2 separate regions of the Homo sapiens genome follow, and region 2 is linked to region 1. Evidence: promoter capture Hi-C in human tissues and cell types (Jung and others, 2019). All regions are on one chromosome and are shown on one strand. Each heading gives the region's core, a stretch centred on a gene start or on the middle of the fragment in contact. The rest is flanking DNA. Distances are from core to core; before and after follow the strand shown.

What was found. The method cuts DNA at HindIII sites, captures the fragments that hold promoters and counts their contacts. A contact is called where the count stands out against the background at its distance.
Region 2: a fragment that was not itself captured here is called in contact with the fragment with the promoter of HS3ST2 in region 1 in 1 of the 25 tissues and cell types used here (heart right ventricle).

Annotation. Positions count from the first base shown.
Region 1 is chr16:22,810,703-22,817,809 of GRCh38, forward strand. It overlaps HS3ST2 (heparan sulfate-glucosamine 3-sulfotransferase 2), which reads left to right and starts at 3,460. Exons shown (of 2, transcript NM_006043.2): 1 at 3,460-4,393. The coding sequence starts at 3,909. LOC107984851 (collagen alpha-1(XVI) chain) reads right to left here and starts at 4,157. Exons shown (of 4, transcript XR_001752349.2): 1 at 4,005-4,157; 2 at 2,285-2,562; 3 at 1,581-1,699. The HindIII fragment of the contact is 6,010 bases long and covers 1-5,198 here.
Region 2 is chr16:21,535,789-21,542,855 of GRCh38, forward strand. It overlaps the pseudogene LOC646828. Among named protein-coding and RNA genes, the nearest start is that of MIR3680-1, 33 kb to the left of the region's middle. RefSeq lists enhancers at 2,216-2,717, 2,718-3,217, 5,224-5,962, 6,035-6,084. The HindIII fragment of the contact is 5,817 bases long and covers 1-5,469 here.

The DNA of each region.
Region 1 (7,107 bases), core at 2,210-4,709:
AAGAAATGTCCTTAAACAGATATGGCATGTCTTTACATATTTACTAATGACCAGAATGTGAACATTCTGGCTGCAGATGAATAAGTCATTGTAGACTATGTGGTGACTTTAGAATGGAGGAAATGCATGGTAGAGTAACAAGATAGAGGGAGCCTGGGTCCCAAACACTTTGGAGCTTCCATACAAGCCCTAAAGTACCTTCATCTGGACTTTCATGTGATTACAAAAATAAACATATACCTTGCTTAAGTGGGTGTTAATTGACAAACTACACAACCCAGCATAATCCTACCTGATACCCCCAAAGCAGAATCACGTTTGCTACTGTAAACAGATAAAGGTTTAGGAGATGGGCAGGTATGTCCAATGTCTCACTTCCTAAAAAATTCTATCCAAGTCAGTCATTACTCTGATTGGAAATTTGAAGAGGAAAATCTTCCTGGTTTTGATATATGTGAGTACCCAGGGATATCACAGTTTATGAATTCAAAGGTTAAAAATTATTTAAAAATTAAGCCAAGCACAGAATTATGAGAAATCATTATATTCATGTTTTATTTTCTAAGGGAAATAGTACTGATCACAGCAGATGACTCCACATTTAACCTTGTAATTTTAACAATGGAATACAAAAATAGCAGGTTCATGATGTGAATAATTGTTCAAAGTATATATAAGAGCTCCTTCCAGGCCAGGCATTGTGGCTCATGTCTGTAATTCTAGCACTTTGGGAAGCTGAGGCAGGAGGATCACTTGAGCTCAGGAGTTCAAGACCAGCTTGGGCAACACAGTAAGACTTCATCTCTACAAAAAATTAAAAAACTAGCTAGGTGTGGTGGCACATGCCTGTAGTCCTAGCTACTCAGGAGGCTGAGGCAGGAGGATCCCTTGAGCCCAGGAAGTGGAGGCTGCAGCATGAGCTATGATTGCACTACTGCATGCCAGCATGGTCAACAGAGTGAGACACTTCCCCTCACCCAAAAGAAGAAGAAGAACTCCTTTAAGTATATTTGTTTTGACATTTTTATTAACAATTAGAATGAGGAATTAATTAAATTGTGATCAACTGTGGAAATTACATGATGCCAAGTGAGTGGTTCATGCTTTGGGTAATGGAATCATAGAATCATGCAACATCTAAACTTTGAGAGACTTTTAAGGTGAATCATAGCGTCCCATTTTACAGCTGAGGAACCTGAGGCTTAAAGGGGGTCCACTTGCCCAAAGTACACCTGGAATAAAGGGTAAAGCTGGGATACAATCTTTCTACTTTTTCTTTTTGAATAAATGAAAGCTACCTCGTGGTTTGACTTCAAATAGACATTTAAAAAAAACTAGGGCAGCGAACTGATGAGACAAGATGAAATGCAATCAAGTCAAATCTATAAGGACCTACACATTGGGTCCAAAAAGGCCCACTGTACAAGCACAGTATGGGGTAGCTGTGCCTTAATCAGCAGCACTTGTAAGAAACATTTAGAGATGTTACTTGGCTGCAAGTTTGAGATGTCAGCAGTGTGATATAGCCACAAGAAAAAGATAATGGAGTCTTAGGTGGCATTACTAGAAATAGAACTTACAAAAGAGAGGTGAGAGTCCTGTTGAACTTTTCAATCCATATCTGAAATTCCTCGCGCAGTCCCAGGTGTGAGATTTTAGAAGAGACATAGACAAATTAGCTTACATCCAGGAGAGGAGCCTAGGATGGAATTATATGAATAATGGTCAAAGGAAGTTAGGAAGCTGCAAAGTGCTGTAACTAAGAGCTTGAATCTTGGAGTCAAGACTGCCCGGGTTTAATCCCAGCTCTGCCAGTTACTGTGTATATGTTTGTTAAATCTTCTTATCACTGCCTGTAGATTAGAAATTACAATAATACCTATCTCCAAAGATAAATGAGGTAGTGCATGTCAAGTGATTAGCGCATAACTCCCATAAAACAAGCACTCAATAAATGCTAGCTACTATTAGAATTAAGACAGCAAAGTGATGCCAGGGTAATGGTAACAACTTCATAGGTTGTGAATATTTAATCAGTTAACCCATGCCAGGTGCTTGATACAAAGTTGGCAGCTATTATTATTATCTGCCGTAGAATTGGTTTAAGGTTTCTAGGGATGGGACTAGTTTGGGGACAAAATATTTTCTGGTTTGGGCTAAGATCCACAGAACCTAATGATCAGTTTACAGCCTGAGGAAGGAAGTCAGTTATACCCTGATCAGGGTGGGGGTCATGGTGGTCATCTAGACATTCTATGGCTGGGTGGTGGTGGAGGGCACTCACCTTGTGAACACTCGGACATGGTGAATTGGCATTGGCATTGCTGTTGAAGGACAACTCAGCCGTGTTCTTAGCCATGGCCATTTAGGCCTGTTCTGATGCAGGGTTCTGATCCAAGGTACCAGTGTGGTCCCTCAGGGAAGTACTGGGGATCGTCACTTATGCCTGTTCTGGACATGGTCACCGAGAACTGTCCTGTAGGCATTCACTTAGGAATCATTCGAAGTGGAATTGCTCCTGGATACGTTCTCCTTGTACTCTGTTTCCTCCTCCTAGTGTCTCTGTGTGAAGAAGCCCTCCTCACTCAGCCCTCGGCGACCCTCTGGTACCCTGGACAGCTCCCCGGGGAGCAGTCTACCGCTAGGCGGCGGCTGCTAAGAGAGGAACCCTCCTGACGCGGAGTCTGCCGCTCCGGGGCTCGCTCTCCGGCAGGCCCGGGGAGAGGTGGGGTGACAATGGGTTGGGGTGCGCGCGTGCCTCATAGGTGCGAGACAGAGCGAGCCGCCGGGGTGTGAGTCAGCGCGCTGGGGGCTAAGAAGCTGGGTGAATAGTCACGGAATCTCACTCACGCTCGGCTCCTCCACCCATCCCGTCTACAGCGCGTGTCCCAGTCCAGGGCGTGCGTGCGCTCGGTGTCCGATTCCGGGCTGTGTGTGTCCATTTGGCGAGATGTCGAGAGCGGGGGGAGTGTCCTTGTCGGTGTATCTGGGCCCAGGTTAGGGGACTTCTCCTCCCCACCCCCGCGTGGGTGTGGGGGTGTGTCCGGGCTAGGGCGCGTGTGCTTCTGTGCCTGTGCGTGCGTGTGCGGGTCAGGGTGGTGGGACCGCGCATCAGGGCAGGGTGCCTGCGTCTGCGTCTGGGTCTGTCTGGTCTGCATGTCGGCGCGATCTCGACCTGGATTCGTGTCCCTGGATGTCGAGAGGCCAGCGTGGTGGGGGTGTCCAGCCTCCCGGAGGAGTACTATGCCTTGACACCTTCGTTTCACCGCCCCAAAGCTGGCCTGGGGCTCCGTAGGGAGTGGCCTGCATGGGGAGGGCCCGCGTGCTGTGTTTCTGGGAGGGGTAAGAGAGTGGGGGCGCAGGGGGCGGGCCAGGTCCCTGGGCGCGGCGCGGGCTCGGGGGACCCGCGCGGCTGACGTCAGGCCACTCCTTAAATAGAGCCGGCAGCGCGCTCCGCTCGGCATTTCCCGAAGAGCCAGATCGCGGCCGGCGCCAGCGCCACCGTCCGGTCCACCCGCCAGCCCGCACAGCCGCGCCGCCGCCGAGCGTTTCGTGAGCGGCGCTCCGAGGATCAGGAATGGGGCTTCGGGCGCTGGGCGCGCTCCGAACCCGGCGCACGTAAGAGCCTGGGAGCGCCCGAGCCGCCCGGCTGCCCGGAGCCCCATCGCCTAGGACCGGGAGATGCTGGAAATGCAACCGCCTGTTCCCCGAGGAGCCGCTGCCCCCGGGACCCCCTGGCACTGTGCGCACCCTGGTCAGCAGCCCCCGGAGAAGACGGCGCCCCCAACGCCCGACCCGCGTGGCCGTGGCAGCGCCACGCGAGCCCTCTAGGCGACCGCAGGGCCACAGCAGCTCAGCCGCCGGTGCCCCCTCGGAAACCATGACCCCCGGCGCGGGCCCATGGAGCCATGGCCTATAGGGTCCTGGGCCGCGCGGGGCCACCTCAGCCGCGGAGGGCGCGCAGGCTGCTCTTCGCCTTCACGCTCTCGCTCTCCTGCACTTACCTGTGTTACAGCTTCCTGTGCTGCTGCGACGACCTGGGTCGGAGCCGCCTCCTCGGCGCGCCTCGCTGCCTCCGCGGCCCCAGCGCGGGCGGCCAGAAACTTCTCCAGAAGTCCCGCCCCTGTGATCCCTCCGGGCCGACGCCCAGCGAGCCCAGCGCTCCCAGCGCGCCCGCCGCCGCCGTGCCCGCCCCTCGCCTCTCCGGTTCCAACCACTCCGGCTCACCCAAGCTGGGTACCAAGCGGTTGCCCCAAGCCCTCATTGTGGGCGTGAAGAAGGGGGGCACCCGGGCCGTGCTGGAGTTTATCCGAGTACACCCGGACGTGCGGGCCTTGGGCACGGAACCCCACTTCTTTGACAGGAACTACGGCCGCGGGCTGGATTGGTACAGGTAAGGACCAGGAGCTCCGCTCCGTGCGCCGGGTCTCTGATCGCTTCCATTGGGAGAGCCATCCGTCTCTTGTGTTTTCTCTTTCTTTTAACCCAACTCATTGTATGGGTTCAGGCTGACACACAGGGCCATGGGGGGCTATAGCAGAATTTACCCAGAACTTCCCAGTGATAATCTAGACGGGCAGTTTCTGGAACTGCAAAGGGCGTTCCCTCGTCACTGGAGTCGTTGGAAAAGGATTATCTCCAGTCAAACCTAAGTGCCAGCTAAAGGGCTAACTCCCTCTGTGACCAGCCCTTAGGGTGCCCAAGGAAGGGACAGGCGAGGACCTGTGCTGCCTGAACACGGCACCATCCTAACCCTCTGTAGGTCTTTGCTGGTACCCAGCCCCTGAAGGACCCTGAGAAAGATAAGGCAGTTCAGAGACCCCTTGCAGCAAGGCTCTGTTTGGGAAAGGTCCCCAGAGTTCAGGCCAAATGACAGTGCATCGCCAGAGGTCTCCAGTAAGAAAGATGCCTTAGGGAGTCTCAATCTCAAACCCAGGTATTTGCTGCTGTACTGGGGCTGAGACCCCCAGTAGCTCTGGCCCTGGTAGGTGGTCTTTGAGTAGTGGAAAGAGCCCTGGATTCGAGTCTTGGGTCTGTCACTTAAGCTTGAGCAAGTTTCTTAAACTCTATCAGCCTCTATTTTCTCATCCATCCCAATGGGCAGGAAAACAGCCCTTGCCCTGTATACCTTCCAAGGCTTTTCTGAAGTGCCTTAAAGGTGTAAAAAAGGCACTTCACTTTAAGTGATGCTTCTAAACCAGCAGCCAAAATGTGGAATTTGAAGGTGGGCCCTGCGGGTGAAGGCTAGCAAGGGTGCTAGGGGCAGCCAGTCATGCATAGACTGTCTATGCTTCCCATGCATGCCAGGGAGGAGAATTATCCCCACTGGGGGAGTCAAGGCACAGACCAAAGCTTCTGTGAGGTGGCAGCGTCCACGCCTCAATGCCTTTCTGCCTCCCTAGCCCTGTATGGTGCTGAAGTGTAGGACTGGCCCACATGTGGGTGGTGTAATGTCCCGGCTCCCTGTTAACACATAGGTCACAGAATTCTCACAATTCACCTGACCCTTTGAAGACTTTCTAGAAACATCTGCATAGTAATGACGTTGGGGAGGGGTAACATGGTAGCTGACAGAGTAGCTGAGGCTAAATCTGCTGTTTTTATCTACAGCTTTAGGCAGTAGAGGTCATATGCATATTGGACAAGGGACAACTTTGTTAGAAAGAGGACCCCACTGGGCTTATAATAGAGGGCCCTGGATTTACCAAAAGTAGGGGGACCGCAGGCCTGATTTAGCACCTTTGCAGGTTACTCCTGGCTCGCAATGGTTGTAGTTGTGGGGACGAGTGGGTCATGCATCATCCTTAGCAGGCAGACACATAGTCTGTCCCCATTGCAGCCAACCAGGGGCTAGCTAGCCTGTGGGTGGCCCCAGCACCATTATGTCTGGTTAATAGGGTAGGGTGGCACAGAGTGGCAGATCTGGCTTCATGCCAATGCCAATAGCCCACTGTGCTTTCCAAGCTGTGACTCATGGGCATCCCGTCTAGGTGCATGTGGACACTGTCTGAGTCAGATCCCGGGATGGAGGAGGCAAACACATTGAACAGCAGAGCCCAGAGTGGGTCAGCCATGACCACATTCGAATGCAGGCCAGCATTTCCTCGATGGAAAATCTGAAGATCATTATGACACCTTTTGCCAATGCGAAGTGCCTTTTAAGTGCAAAACAGCAAAATTCTGAGCATCTGGCTTTCAGATAGTGTGCCCTCCAATAAATACCTATGCCCTGAACCCAGACTCTCCTCCCTCCCCTCTCTTCCTTCCACCACTAAACAGCATACCTCAGGCTTCCATCCTGGAGCCCATGTCATTCAGGGATGGCTGCTTTTTATTTTTAACCTTGGCATGTGTGATTCTAAGCAAGCTTAGCTGTGAACCTTAGAGAGGGAAGCCATGTCTTATTTTTTATTTATTTATTTTTTTTTAGCACATTTGGATTCTGCTAAAATTCTCAGCTGAGTCTTGGTAGGTTTTATTTAACATCAAGCATGCTGACAGCTCTGCTTCTCTCTTCTCTCCCCCTCTACCACCTTTCCCCACTTTATATTTCTAAAAGACTATCCTAGAGGTCTGGTCGTAATTGCCCTCTCCCCATTGCTTGACCAGGAAGGCTGGGAGGCTCCAGTGTCAGGAAAAGGCTGTGTGGTTTGTGCTTCTTTCAGTTACAAATCCACACCCCTAGAGTCAAGTGTTTAGCTTGTGGATTGCCATTTCTGTGCAGGGTAATACTACCCCACTTAGATGCTGTTTCCATAACCTCCAGAACATCTTTCTGTATGTAAAGAACATTTTTGTACATTTCTTTTTATTATGACCAAGTCATACACATTAACTGCAGAAATCATGGGGATTTCTGGAATCTTTTAAAACCCATGTTCTTACTTTCTTCCTGAATCCCATGAGCTAGGTACGGTGGGTGACAGGATGTTCCGCTCTCTGTCCACTGCCTTGTCAGTTCACAGCTTGCCATCATAAAGCCAGGGTCCACTGGGCAGACATAGCCAAAGAACCCTTGCACCCATTGGAGTGGACTGTGCTTTCCAAAGGGGGAGGTGCAGAGTTGCAGGCAGTGTGGATCTTAGTATGATCTGCCCACATCAAAGC
Region 2 (7,067 bases), core at 1,311-3,810, 1.3 Mb before region 1:
TCCCGGCTTCAAGTTATTCTCTTGCCCCAGCTTCCCAAGTAGCTGATATTACAGGCGTGCACCACCACGCCTGGCTAATTTTGTAGATTTAGTAGAGACGGGGTTTCACCATGTTGGTCAGGCTGGTCTCGAACTCCTGGCCTCAAGTGATCTGCCTGTCTCAGCCTTCTAAAGTGCTAAAATTATAGGCATGAGCCATGACGCCCAGCCCAATAGTATAACTTTTAAAAATGTATACAAGGATTATTAACTAATTTTCGAAAAAAAAAAAAAGCAATGAAACTATTTAGATAAGAAAAAGGAGGCCGGGCTCGGTGGCTCATGCCTGGAATCCCAGCACTTTGGGAGGCCAAGGTGGGCAGATCACCTGAGTTCAAGACCAGCTTGGCCAACATGGTGAAACCCCGTCTCTACTAAAAATACAAAAATTAGCCAGGCGTGGTGATGGGTGCCTGTAATCCCAGCTACTCGAGAGGCTGAGGCAGGAGAATTGCTTGAACCCAGGAGGTGGAGGTAGTAGTGAGCTGAGATCGAGCCACTGCACTGCAGCCTGGGCGACAGAGCGAGACTCTGTCTCAAAAAAAAAAAAAGGAAAGAAAAGAAAAAGGAAGAAAACAAAAACCATGCAGACCCATGACGCTGGGACAACTCCCATGGATGCCTTGTGTGTCTGTGTGTGATAGATTAGGGCGTTGCTCAGAACATGCTCGCTGTGATCACTGGAACCGCTGTCCAATCTCAACAAGCTCCTACTTCAATTGGAACTTTCTTCTTGTGTAAGAACACCCCAAATGCATGAAAGAATATATATAACTCCTCAAGGCTCTTATGCAGCATCTTAGTGACGCTGCCAAGCAAGAGAGACGCCTTCCATGAAGCGCCATCATGCCAGTTACGGGCACGGCTCACTTGGCTTGGGGCCACTTCAACGGGCTCCTTCTGGATGATCCAGGTGACCGACTCGGTCAGCGGCGGGGTGGTGAGCGAGCCCACATAGGTCCAGTAATCCCAGCAGGTGGGCAGCAGAGCGGAGGGGTCGAAGGGGCGCATGGCCGCCTGCGCGTCCTGAGAGACCGAGAAGCACAGGCCGTATCAGTCCTCAGGTGGGACTAGGAGCTTCCATCTTGTCTCAGCACGGGAGGCCTTCATGGTGCTTGGAAGGAAGTGCTTTCCCCGAGATAAGGCCATGAGGCCACTGCTGTCACACTTGGAAGCAGTGATAAGAAAATGTGAGCCTTCTATACAGAGCAAGGATTCCTGCCAACTTACATTGGTGGGAATTACATTACATTACACCAGCTTATGTTGGTGCTTACATTTTTCCTTTTGAAGTCATTTCTTGGGGCGCAGTAGCTCACCCCTGTAATCTCAGCACTTTGGGAGGCCGAGGCGGGTGGATCACTTGAGGTCAGGAGTTCGAGACCAGCCTGGTCAACATGATGAAACCCTGTCTCTACTAAAAATACAAAAATTATCCAGATGTGGTGGTGGGCGCCTGTAGTCCCAGCTACTCAGGAGGCTGAGGCAAGAGAATTGCTTGAGCCCAGGAGGCAGAGGTTGCAGTGAGCTGAGATCACGCCACTGCACTCCAGCCTGGGCAACAGAGTGAGACTCTGTCTCAAATAATAATAATAATTAATAAATAAATAATAAAAAATTAAAAAGCCATTTCTTTTAGCATACCTTGGCTGCAAAAAATATTACTTTTTATTGTGATAAAATATACATAACATAAAATTTACCGTCTTAACCTTTTTTTTTTTTTGAGATGCAGTTTTGCTCTTGTTGCCCAGGCTGGGGTGCAATGGTGCGATCTTGGCTCACTGCAACCCTTCGCCTCCCAGGCTCAAGTGATTCTCCTGCCTCAACCTCCTGAGTAGCTGGGATTACAGGCACCCGCCACCACATCTGCTAATTTTGTATTTTTAGTAGAGACGGGGTTTCTTCATGTTGGTCAGGCTGGTTTTGAACTCCCAATCTCAGGTGATTCACCTGCCTCAGCCTCCCACAGCGCTGGGATGAGAGGCATGAGCCACCATGCCCGGCCCATCTTAACCATTTTGAAGTGTAAAATTTGATGGCGTTAAATGCAGTCACATTGTGGTGCAACCATCTCCACCATCCGTCTCCAGAACTTTTCCATCATCCCAAACTCAAATTCTGTCCTGACCCCACTAAACACTATGTCCAGCTTCCTCCCCCAGGCCTGGCACCCACCATTCTGCTTCCATCTCTCTGAATCTGAGGACTCTGGGGACCTGATGTGGGTGGGATCCTGTGGTTTTTGTCTTTTGTGTCTGGCTTATTTCACTGGGCATAATGTCCTTCAGGTTTATCCACATTGGAGCATGTGTCAGGAGTCCCTGCATTGTTGCTTTTTTTTTTTTTTTTTTGAGACAGAGTCTCGCTGTGTCACCCAGGCTGGCGTGCAGTGGTGTGATCTCGGCTCACTGCAAGCTCCGCCTCCTGGAGTTCAAGACCAGCTTGAACTCCTGGGTTCATGCCATTATCCTGCCTCAGCCTCCCCAGTAGCTGGGACTATAGGCACCCGCCACCACGCTCGGCAAATTTTTTGTATTTTTAGTAGAGACGGGGTTTCACCATGTTAGACAGGATGGTCTCGATCTCCTGACCTCGTGATCCGCCCACCTCGGCCTCCCAAAATGTTGGGATTACAGGCATGAGCCACCGTGCCTGGCTTGCCTGGAGACATTTCTACTGCTACCTTACCGATCAGGGTATCCAGTATCTCCGTGATTACCTTCATCTGTCCCTGGAAACTGTGCCTGCCACCCTACGCTGCAGCCGTCCAGGGACTGGCAGGCCTCGGCCTAAAGGTCTGGAGGGTGGGCGACCTGCAAGACTCACAAGAGGGGAAGCCGACAGACATACCTACAGACGGAGTGCTGTGCCCCTGGTGCCGATAAGAAAGCTGAGGCTCGGGCTGGGTCAGCAACCGAATTCCAGTTTAGAGGCAGATTTGGTCGTGGACATGGCCAGCCACCTCCGTAAAATTAGAGAGGATTATTTTGCATTGAATACACTCACAGCCAAAAAACAAAAAAAAAAGAGTCAGGGTCTTACTTTGTCAACTAGGCAGGAGTGCAATGATGCCATCATAGCTCACTGCAGTCTCTAATTCCTGGGCTCAAGTGATCCCCCCGCGTCAGTCTCCCAAGTAGCTAGGACACCATACCAGGGTTTAAAATTAATTGTTTGTAGCCAGGGGGTCTTGCCATCTTGCCCAAGCTGTTCTCCAACTCCTGGGCTCCAGTGATCCTCCTGCCTTGGCCTCTCAAAATATTGGGATTACAGGCATAAGCCACTGTGCCCAGCCAGCTCTTTTGGATATATACCCAGAAGTGTGTGATTGCTGAATCATAGGGTAGTTCTATTTATAACTTTTTATTTTTTTTATTTTTTTGAGGCAGAGTCTCACTCTGTCTTCCAGGCTGGAGTGCCGTGGCATGATCTCGGCTCATGGTGGTTGGGCCTGGCCGCAACACAGCCCTCATCAGCGTCCCATGCCAACCAAGCACAACTCTGCACCTGTCCCTGGCCAGCACTGTGGGACAAGAGTCCAGTCCAAAGTGACAGAGTCTCTGTCTGGAAGGAAGATGGCCTCCCTGCTCAGCCACATCACATCACCTTGACTTTGCTGGGCCCTGGCCTTCCAAGGTGGAAGCCAGCAACCTAGATGCCTTGGGCTTGTCTCCTAACATCAAGCAGTGAGGGTCAGGGTCAAGAGAGGCGGCTGAGCTACCAGAAGGAAGCCCAGGAGTGTCCACGCCGGCAGACACATGCATCAGTTCTGTGCACACGTGTTCACGTTTATAATTATCCAGTTAATTAAAAAAAAAAAACAGCATTATAGGCTGGGCACAGTGGCTCATGCCTGTAATTGCAGCACTTTGGGAGGCCAAGGCAGGCAGATCACCTGAAGTCAGGAGTTCAAGACCAGCCTGACCAACATGGCGAAACCCCGTCTCTACTAAAAATACAAAAATTAGCCAGGCATGGTGGCAGGTGCCTGTCATCCCAGCTACTCGGGAGTCTGAGACACAAGAATTGCTTTAGCACAGGAGGCAGAGGTTGCAGTGAGCCAAGACTGCACCATTGCACTCCAGTCTGGGCAACAGAGAGAGACTCGGTCTCAAACAACAACAACAGCAACAAAACCCACAGCATTATTGTGATAGAATTCACATACCATGCAACTCTCCCATCTAAAGTGTACAACCTGGTTGGGCGCGATGGATCATGCCTGTAATCCCAGCACTTTGGGAGGCCGATGTGGGAGGACTGCTTGAGGCCAGGAGTTTGAGACCAGCCTAAGCAACATAACAAGAATCTGACTCTACAAAAAACACAAAAACTAGCCAGGTGCAGTGGTACATGCCTGTGGTCCCAGGTAGTTGGGAGGTTGAGGTGGGAGGATGGCTTGAGCCCCGGAGGTTGAGGCTGCAGTGAGCTGTGATCATACCAGTGCACTCTAGCCTGGGTGACAGAGTGAGATCCTTTCTTAAAATAAGTAAATAGGCCGGGCACAGTGGCTCATGCCTGTAATCCCAGCACTTTGGGAGGCCAAGGCGGGTGGATCACCTGAAGTCGGGAGTTCGAGACCAGCCTGACCAACATGGCGAAACTGCGTCTCTACTAAAAATACAAAATTGGCCAGGCGTGGTGGTGCATGCCTGTAATCCCAGCTACTCGGGAGGCTGAGGCAGGAGAATCGCTTGAACCTGGGAGGCAGAGGTTGCAGTGAGCTGAGATCATGCCATTGCACTCCAGCCTGGGCAACAAGAGTGAAACTCCATCTCAAAAAAAAAAAAAAAAAAAAACCAGAAAAAGTAAATAAAAATTGAAGTGTACAATTCTATGGTTTTGGGTATATTCACAGTTGTGCAGCCATCCCAAGTCAATTTTAGAACATTTTCAGCACCTCAAGGAGGAAGCTTGGTACTTTTTAGCTCTTCTCCCCACCCCCGCCGTGCTGCTTCTGTCTCTGTGGGTTTCATAGGAACTGAGTCATGTAACATGTGGAACATTTGTGTCTTGCGTCTGTCACTTAGTACGGTGCTTTTGAGGCTCACCCACACCGCAGCGTGAGTTAGAGCTGTGTCCTTTCTGATTGCCAAGTAATATCTCATTGCATGGTCTAGCTGGGTTGACATCCCATTGCACACTCTAGCTGGGCTGTGAAGGAGCAGGCTGCTTGTGCACATGGGTAACAGATGGATGTACAGTGAGACGTCAGTCTGTGCACATGGGTAACAGGTGGGTGCACCGTGAGGTGTTGGTCTATGCACATGGGTAACAGGCGGGTGTGCAGTGAGACGTCAGTCTGTGCACATGGGTAACAGGTGGGTGCACAGTGAGGTGTTAGTCTGTGCACATGGGTAACAGGCGGGTGTGCAGTGAGATGTCAGTCTGGTGCGCGTGGGTAACAGGCAGGTGTGCAGTGAGGCGTCAGTCTGGTGCACGTGGGTAACAAGTGGGTGTGCAGTGAGGCGTCAGTCTGTACACGTGGGTAACAGGTGGATGTGCAGTGAGGTGTCAGTCTGGTGCACGTGGGTAACAGGCGGGTGTGCAGTGAGATGTCAGTCTGTGCACATGGGTAACAGGTCGGTGTGCAGTGAGACGTTGGTCTGTGCACATGGGTAACAGGCAGGTGTGCAGTGAGATGTCCTCTCCTCCTGCCGGCCACACGTCCCCGCTCCCAGGGCACAGATGTGCCAGTCACTTTCTGAGCAACTACTTCAAATCTTCAGAACAACCCTTCAAGAAGTATTTCTAGTTTACTGATGAAGATAGACAGACAGATATAAACAACTTGCCCAAAGCCACGTTGCCAGTCAGGGCCACTGAGGCCTGGCCCGTTCCAAGGTGCGGGCTCATCTCTCCCTCCCCAGGACTGCAGGAATCAGTCGGGGGAGCGGCAGGCCCCAGCCATTCCACTGCGTGCAGGTTTCCTGCCAATTAAGCTTTCCAGCCTTGGGCTGAGAAGAGGATGCCTGTGTGTTGCCTCATCGTCCCCAGGAGTTCCTGTCCTGTCTCTAAGATGCATGAGGGCTGGAGCAGCCATGTGGTTACAGAAAGCTGCTCCCCCTCAGGGCCCCCAGAGGAAGTCAGGGCCCTTCCTTTATGCGTGTGGTGAGCCCCAGGCAGCTAGAATGGGACACCGGTGAGCACACCAATGAGGCTGAAGACCATCACATCCATTATCTGAGCACGGATGGCCCAGCTACCTGTGGAAAGCACCACAAGCCTTTGCTGGCGGAAGTGGGTTGGTGACTTGTTCCACTTTTCTCTTATTTATTTATTTATTTTGAGACGGAGTTTCGCTCTTGTTGCCCAGGCTGGAGTGCAATGGCACGATCTCGGCTCACCACAACCTCCACCTCCCGGGTTCAAGCGATTCTCCTGCCTCAGCCTCCCTAGCAGCTGGGATTACACGCATGCACCATCACGCCTGGCTAATTTTGTATTTGTAATAGAGATGGGGTTTCTCTATGTTGGTCAGGCTCGTCTCAAACTCCTGACCTCAGGTAATCCACCCGCCTCAGCCTCCCACAGTGCTGGGATTATAGGCGTGAGCCACCGCTCTGTTCCTGGTTTTGTCTTCTTTCTCTTAAACAGGACCCCGCATTTTATGAGCGTCAAGCCTCACCCAGCCTAACTCCGCCCTTGGTTTGTCCTCTTAGAGTCTCAGTTTCCCCAGGTGTACGACAGGCAGTGTGGTGGCTGTAATGGGCTTCCATCAGTGCCTGCCACATGGGCGTGGGGCTCGGTAGGTGCTGCCGCTGCTGCTGCCAAAGCTAGAAGAGCCCCCACAGGGCATAGAGCCATTCCCTGGATCCCCTGGACCTGGTGGGCTGTTTCCAGCTCCACAAGGCAGCCAATTCCCCGGTAGCCCTGACTCTTGCGAAGGCAGGGAGGAGGGGGGGCCCCAGCAGCCTGAGGAGCTTGCAGCTTGTCCAGGCATGGAGGGTGGGGACCCTCTGTGGGCAGTTTTTGCCAAAACTTCTGGCTATGGTGAGAGGGTCAAAGGCGAAGCCTCGAGGTCT